2 separate regions of the Homo sapiens genome follow, and region 1 is linked to region 2. Evidence: promoter capture Hi-C in human tissues and cell types (Jung and others, 2019). All regions are on one chromosome and are shown on one strand. Each heading gives the region's core, a stretch centred on a gene start or on the middle of the fragment in contact. The rest is flanking DNA. Distances are from core to core; before and after follow the strand shown.

Evidence for each region. The method cuts DNA at HindIII sites, captures the fragments that hold promoters and counts their contacts. A contact is called where the count stands out against the background at its distance.
Region 1: a contact is called between a fragment that was not itself captured here and the fragment with the promoter of PSMA5 in region 2, in 4 of the 25 tissues and cell types used here (dorsolateral prefrontal cortex, hippocampus, lymphoblastoid cells and 1 more).

Annotation. Positions count from the first base shown.
Region 1 is chr1:109,648,438-109,651,137 of GRCh38, forward strand. No RefSeq gene overlaps it. Among named protein-coding and RNA genes, the nearest start is that of GSTM4, 6.3 kb to the right of the region's middle. The HindIII fragment of the contact is 6,271 bases long and covers 1-2,700 here.
Region 2 is chr1:109,425,031-109,427,730 of GRCh38, forward strand. It overlaps PSMA5 (proteasome 20S subunit alpha 5), which reads right to left and starts at 1,418. Exons shown (of 9, transcript NM_002790.4): 1 at 1,272-1,418. The coding sequence starts at 1,300. RefSeq lists enhancers at 1,481-2,412, 1,919-1,978. The HindIII fragment of the contact is 7,725 bases long and covers 1-2,700 here.

The sequences.
Region 1 (2,700 bases), core at 201-2,700, 220 kb after region 2:
TCATAGAAACAAAGTAGAATGACGGTTTTCAGGGGATCGGGAGAGGAGGAAATTAAAACCAATCCAACTGTCCAGAGACAGTTTTTGTTTTGTTTTGTTTTGTTTTGTTTTGAGACGGAGTCTCGCTCTGTCGCTCACGCTGGAGTGCAGTGGCGCGATCTCGGCTCACTGCAAGCTCCGCCTCCCGGGTTCACGCCATTCTCCTGCCCCAGCCTCCCAAGTAGCTGGGACTACAGGCGCCCGCCACCACGCCCGGCTAATTTTTCGTGCTTTTAGTAGAGACGGGGTTTCACCGTGTTAGCCAGGATGGTCTCGATCTCCTGATCTCGTGATCCGCCCGCCTCGGCCTCCCAAAGTGCTGGGATTACAGGCGTGAGCCACCGCGCCTGGACATAGACAGTTTTTAAAAAATAAACTTAAAGCTTGAAACTCACCAGATCCAGACAATTAAATACCAGGCCTCTCAGAAGGTATCAAAGAACGGAAACTCACCAGATCATCACATCCAGACAATGAGATGCCAGGCCCCTCATTCATCATGATTGCTTCCTTAGCCCTTCAGAATTCCTGTTTTCCCATACATTGTTACATTTTTTTCTCTGCTATATAAACCCCTAATTTTAGCCAGTCAGGGAGATGGATTTGAGACTGATCTCTCATCTCCCCTACTGCAGCACTCTATTAAAGCCTTCTTCCTTGGCAGTAATCATCTCAGCCGTTGGCTATCTGTGCAGCAAACAGCAGGACTCAGACTGAATCCCTGGTGTTTCGGTAACAAAATGGAGAGTTGCTATTCAAGAGGTATAAAGTTTCAGTTATACAAGATAAACATATTCTAGATATCTGCTATACAACACCGTGCTCATAGTTAACAATACTGTGTACCTGTTTACTTAAAAATTTGTTAAGAGAGTATGCGGCAGGAGAATAGGGTCTGGAGGCAGGGAACCTAAGGCTGATTCACACTGAATTTCTAGAGCTAAATCGAAAGGAAAATCCCAACTTTCCATGCCTAAGTAACAAAAGGACCAGAAGCTACTCCCTTTGCAAACCCCCTGCTTTTCTGCTCTGCAGATGGAAAATGGACAGTTCCTCTGATTGGTTGCTTTCTGCAGCCAATCAGATATTTGCATAGAAGTGTAACTTTGTAACTTCACTTCAGCCTCTGATTGTGGACCACTATTCATTTGCATGGGGTGAACACCAAGTGGCCAATGGCAAACTTCTAGGAGGTATTTGGACCCCAAAAGATTCTGAATCCGGGCTCTTGAGCCCCTATGCTTGGCCTGCTCCCACCCTGTGGAGTGTACTTTCATTTTCAATAAATGAAAATTTGTTTGCTCCTTGTTTTGTTTGTGCGTTCTGTCCAGTTCTTTGTTCAAAATGCGAAGAACCTGAACGCCCTCCACTGGTAACAAGCAGATCTCATTTTAAGTGTTTTTATTACAACTTAAAAAAGAAAGCTTTAATTTGTTACCTATTTGTATATTTATATATCTGTGTATGCCTAAATGCATACAAATAAAGGAATATTAATAGAGCCTTTATTATAATCTATTAGAAAATTATGTACCAAAGGAGTAAAATTAGGATTTGGCTCTGTCATGTAAAATGACTCAGTTGTTTTGCACCCAGATTACTAGAGGTTATTTTTTTTCACCAAATTATTCTGTTAACTCTCAGTGTTTTTCACATGCTCTTAAAACATCTTGTTAGAAATTCCCTTGGATAGCCCTGACCTGATTTTATTTGTTCATATTTTAAAATGCTATCACAGACCTAAATTCACCCTTAAAGTAGAGACCACTCCAGAAATTAAATCAGCTCCAATGACTGAAATAATTGCCTGCATCTGGGTCTGCTGGCTGCTAAAGTGTAAAAGAGTAAGCATATACACTAATGGCAGATGCACTTTTGGGGAGTCTGTGAATTGGGAATGCTTTGGAAATGAAGAGTTTTCTAACCTCCACAAAAATCTGCAAAAATTGGATGACGGATTAAAAATAAAACTTTCAGCTGCTTTGCTGTTACCTGAGGAAATAGCTGTAATAAAAGTAGACCACCATTCAATGCACAAAGACCCAGAATTTCTAGTAATACTTTAGCTGGCCACCATGCTAACCCCAGTAGCGTCACCAAGATCAATGCTCCTGCAAATCACACAGAAAAGAGGGGTCTTGGAGGATTCAAAGAGGCCATTTTTAACTGTCAGAGACAAACCCCTGATTCCCAAAAGTAGAAAAGTGAAAAAATCTGGAAGTGGGAAAAGTTTGGATGTTCATGGCAAAAGAGACTATTTGATGCTGTCAGGATAGCTGACACATAATGGCAAATGATTTAAAGGGGAATTTCAGAAAAATGCTTTGCGATATTACTCATAATAGCAGGGACAAATTGGCAACTATACTAAATCAACATTGGTGGGGGTAATTTTAGAGGTATTTCCAAGGATATTTTAAAAACTTGTCCTACTGCCAACAATGCGATCCTAGCAAATGCAAAGGTGGGATATGAACAAGAACTAAGATCTCGAGGGCCCTTCAGACCTCCAATCACTTTATACAAATGCCTCCTGCAATGGACTATAAATATGCTCTGATTATTTTGGTTTTTTTTTTTCTCCTTCAAGATGGATTAAAGCTTTTCCTTGCCGGAGAGTTATGGCTGTTATAACTGTGGCAAAAATTTCTGCTTGATTTT
Region 2 (2,700 bases), core at 168-2,667:
TCACGTCACTGCACTCCAGCCTGGGCCACAGAGCGAGACTGTCTCAAAAGAGTCTCCTATATGCGAGCAAGGAGCTTGATTTTGTCCATTGCTGTAGCACCAGCACCTAGAACAGTGCCTTGTTCACAGCAAGCACTCAAGCACATTAACTAAGAGAATAAAAAGGGATGTATTTTAGGCCGTCTTGGGAAGACAGAAAAATAAGTAACAAAGCAGTCAATACATATGTTAAGTAAATGGCCACAAAATTTAATAAATGCCTTCTGATAAGCATAACAATTTCTATCATACACACCCTAACTCAAAATTATGTCACCCGAAGATGATTCTCTTCAATGTTCTGGAAGTTAAATATCGACCAACAAAGTCACTTTATAGGACAGTGGGGAAATATGTCAAAACTTCACACACATCTTCTACGAGTCAGTAAAAAAGATGAAAAAGTGGTAACTGCAGGTGGTAAAACTTCGACAGGATCAGCATATACTTGACAGGAAATGCAGCATCTCATACCACTCAGTACAAAGAAAATGTCTGCCTTCCCTGACTTTAAAAAAGAGTAGCTATGTAAAAACTTAACTGACGAAAACAGAAACTGAAAGTAAAAATGTCTACAGCATATATATGTACAACTTAATATTGTGAACATTTTCATACCACAAAAGTTTTTTAAAACTTGCTTTAAACTTTTAAAAAGTCAGAAAAAATTTTGGTCAATTGGAATCGGCATGATGAGAAATCTCTTGAAAACCATTCTAAATTCCAGTTCCTATAAAATCAGACTCCAGACAATATATCCAGCCAAAGCTACGACTGCCTTCGCGCTTCTGAAGAAACTATACACCGCAGCATGCCCTACTACAAACCAGTTGCTTTTTCTTCCAGGAAGCACGTTTAACTTTTTGTTTGTTTGTTCAAGGCAGTCATACTAGGCACGAAAAGATGAACGGAGCAAAGAGTGACCCTTGGCCTTCTCCGGGTTCAAGGTAGGAGTTCCGGCTCCTCACGCCTTCTTTACCAAGCACCAGCCGGAGCTTCTCGCTTCCGCACCGAGTTAGGACCCAGGGGTGACTCAGCGGTAGGACAAGTGCCGCCGATGTGGTCTAGCTTGGGGAAGGACGGCGGGCGCCTGAGGAGGGCATAACATCCCCAGGTCCGGCCAGTCTCGGGTTCCTGGGGAGCCCCATGACACGGCAGAACCCAGGCCGCGCGGCCAGGTCCCGGGCCTGCCCACCCATAATTCCCACCCGACGTCCCCCAGCTGCACGGACCTGTCGTACTCAGACCGGGTAAGAAACATGGCGAGGGTAGGAGGAGGCAGCGGCTACGCGGGGATTCTGAGGACCAACACGACTCCACCGGCACCCAACTCACCGGCAGCCAACTCACCCACACGGCCGCAGTACTAAGGACCAACTGCGCGTGCGACCGCGACCTCTTTAGCCCGCCCTCCTGTGCCTGCTTCCTATTGGCTGGTAGTAGTTCCCGCCTAGGTGATTGGGCCAACGCGCTTCCTCACGAGGGCTTGGTTGGTCCGGAGGAGGAGGAGGACCAGGGAGGTACTTCCGCCTTAAATCGCGGGTGGTTGCTAGGGACGATAGGCACCCAAGGCGTGTAGTGAGTTCGCCTTGTAGAGAAGATGTGAGCCCGCCCCAAGACTGGCAATTGGAAAGGCTTGCATGCAGAGCTGGGTTGTCTGAACCCTGACATAATAGGTCCCTCGCCGGCTCCCGTAATCCCAGCTAGAGGACTTTGGTCCCGTTTCCGGCAAGGCCACCACCTGACTTCTCTTCGCAGGATTCCCTCTCTTAGGGTTCCTCCACGGTGTTCTCCATGCCCGGTCGAGGGCTCCAGGACTTTGGGCGGTAATGAGTCGGCTACAGTGGGTCTGAGCCGGCGCCGCGGACGAGTCCCTTCGTTTCAGCCAGTTTGGCTCGTTTATTGAGAAAAGTGGGGGGCGAGGGGTTAGTATGTAAGAAAGTCTTAAAGTTTCCACATGGTTAAGGTAATTTTATCAACTCTTTCTTGCACCCCTCCCCCTAGTACAGGTTTCAGACCTAAATAACCTAGAGTTCAGGATCCAGACTTCAAAATATTCACTGCTTTTTCTGTTGTTTGTGAAAAATAAGTGTTTTCTTTGAGCCCAGATCGTGCTATTGCACTCCAGCCTGGGCAACAGCCAAACCCTATCCGAAAAAAAAAAAAAAAAAAAAAGCGCTTTCTTTTTCGACGCTTCTTGCTTCCCTTCAATAAGTTGCTTGAGGAGCAACTTTGCAGCTTCGTAATAACACTGTAATTCAAGTATTTGTTCAAGAAAGGCAAGTAAGAAGTCTTGGCACGGGGGTGGGGAATATAGGGAAATGTTGGTCAAATGATACAAAGTTTCAGTCAGAGAAGGTGGATGAGTTCTATAGTTAATAATCATATATTGTGTACTTGAAATTGTGAAGAGGGTACACCTTAAATGTTCTCACCACAGGAAAGTATGTGAGATGATGGATTATGTTGATTAGCTTCATTTAATTATTTGCAGTGTGTGTGTGTATATATATGTATATCAAAACGTCACGTTGTATACCATAAACATGAACAATTTCTATTTGTCACTTACACCTTAAAGCTGGAGTCGGGGGAAAGAAATCATTTATCAGGCAGTATATGCTGGAAAGGGAAATGCCAGCATCTCATTTCCAGTTGTTA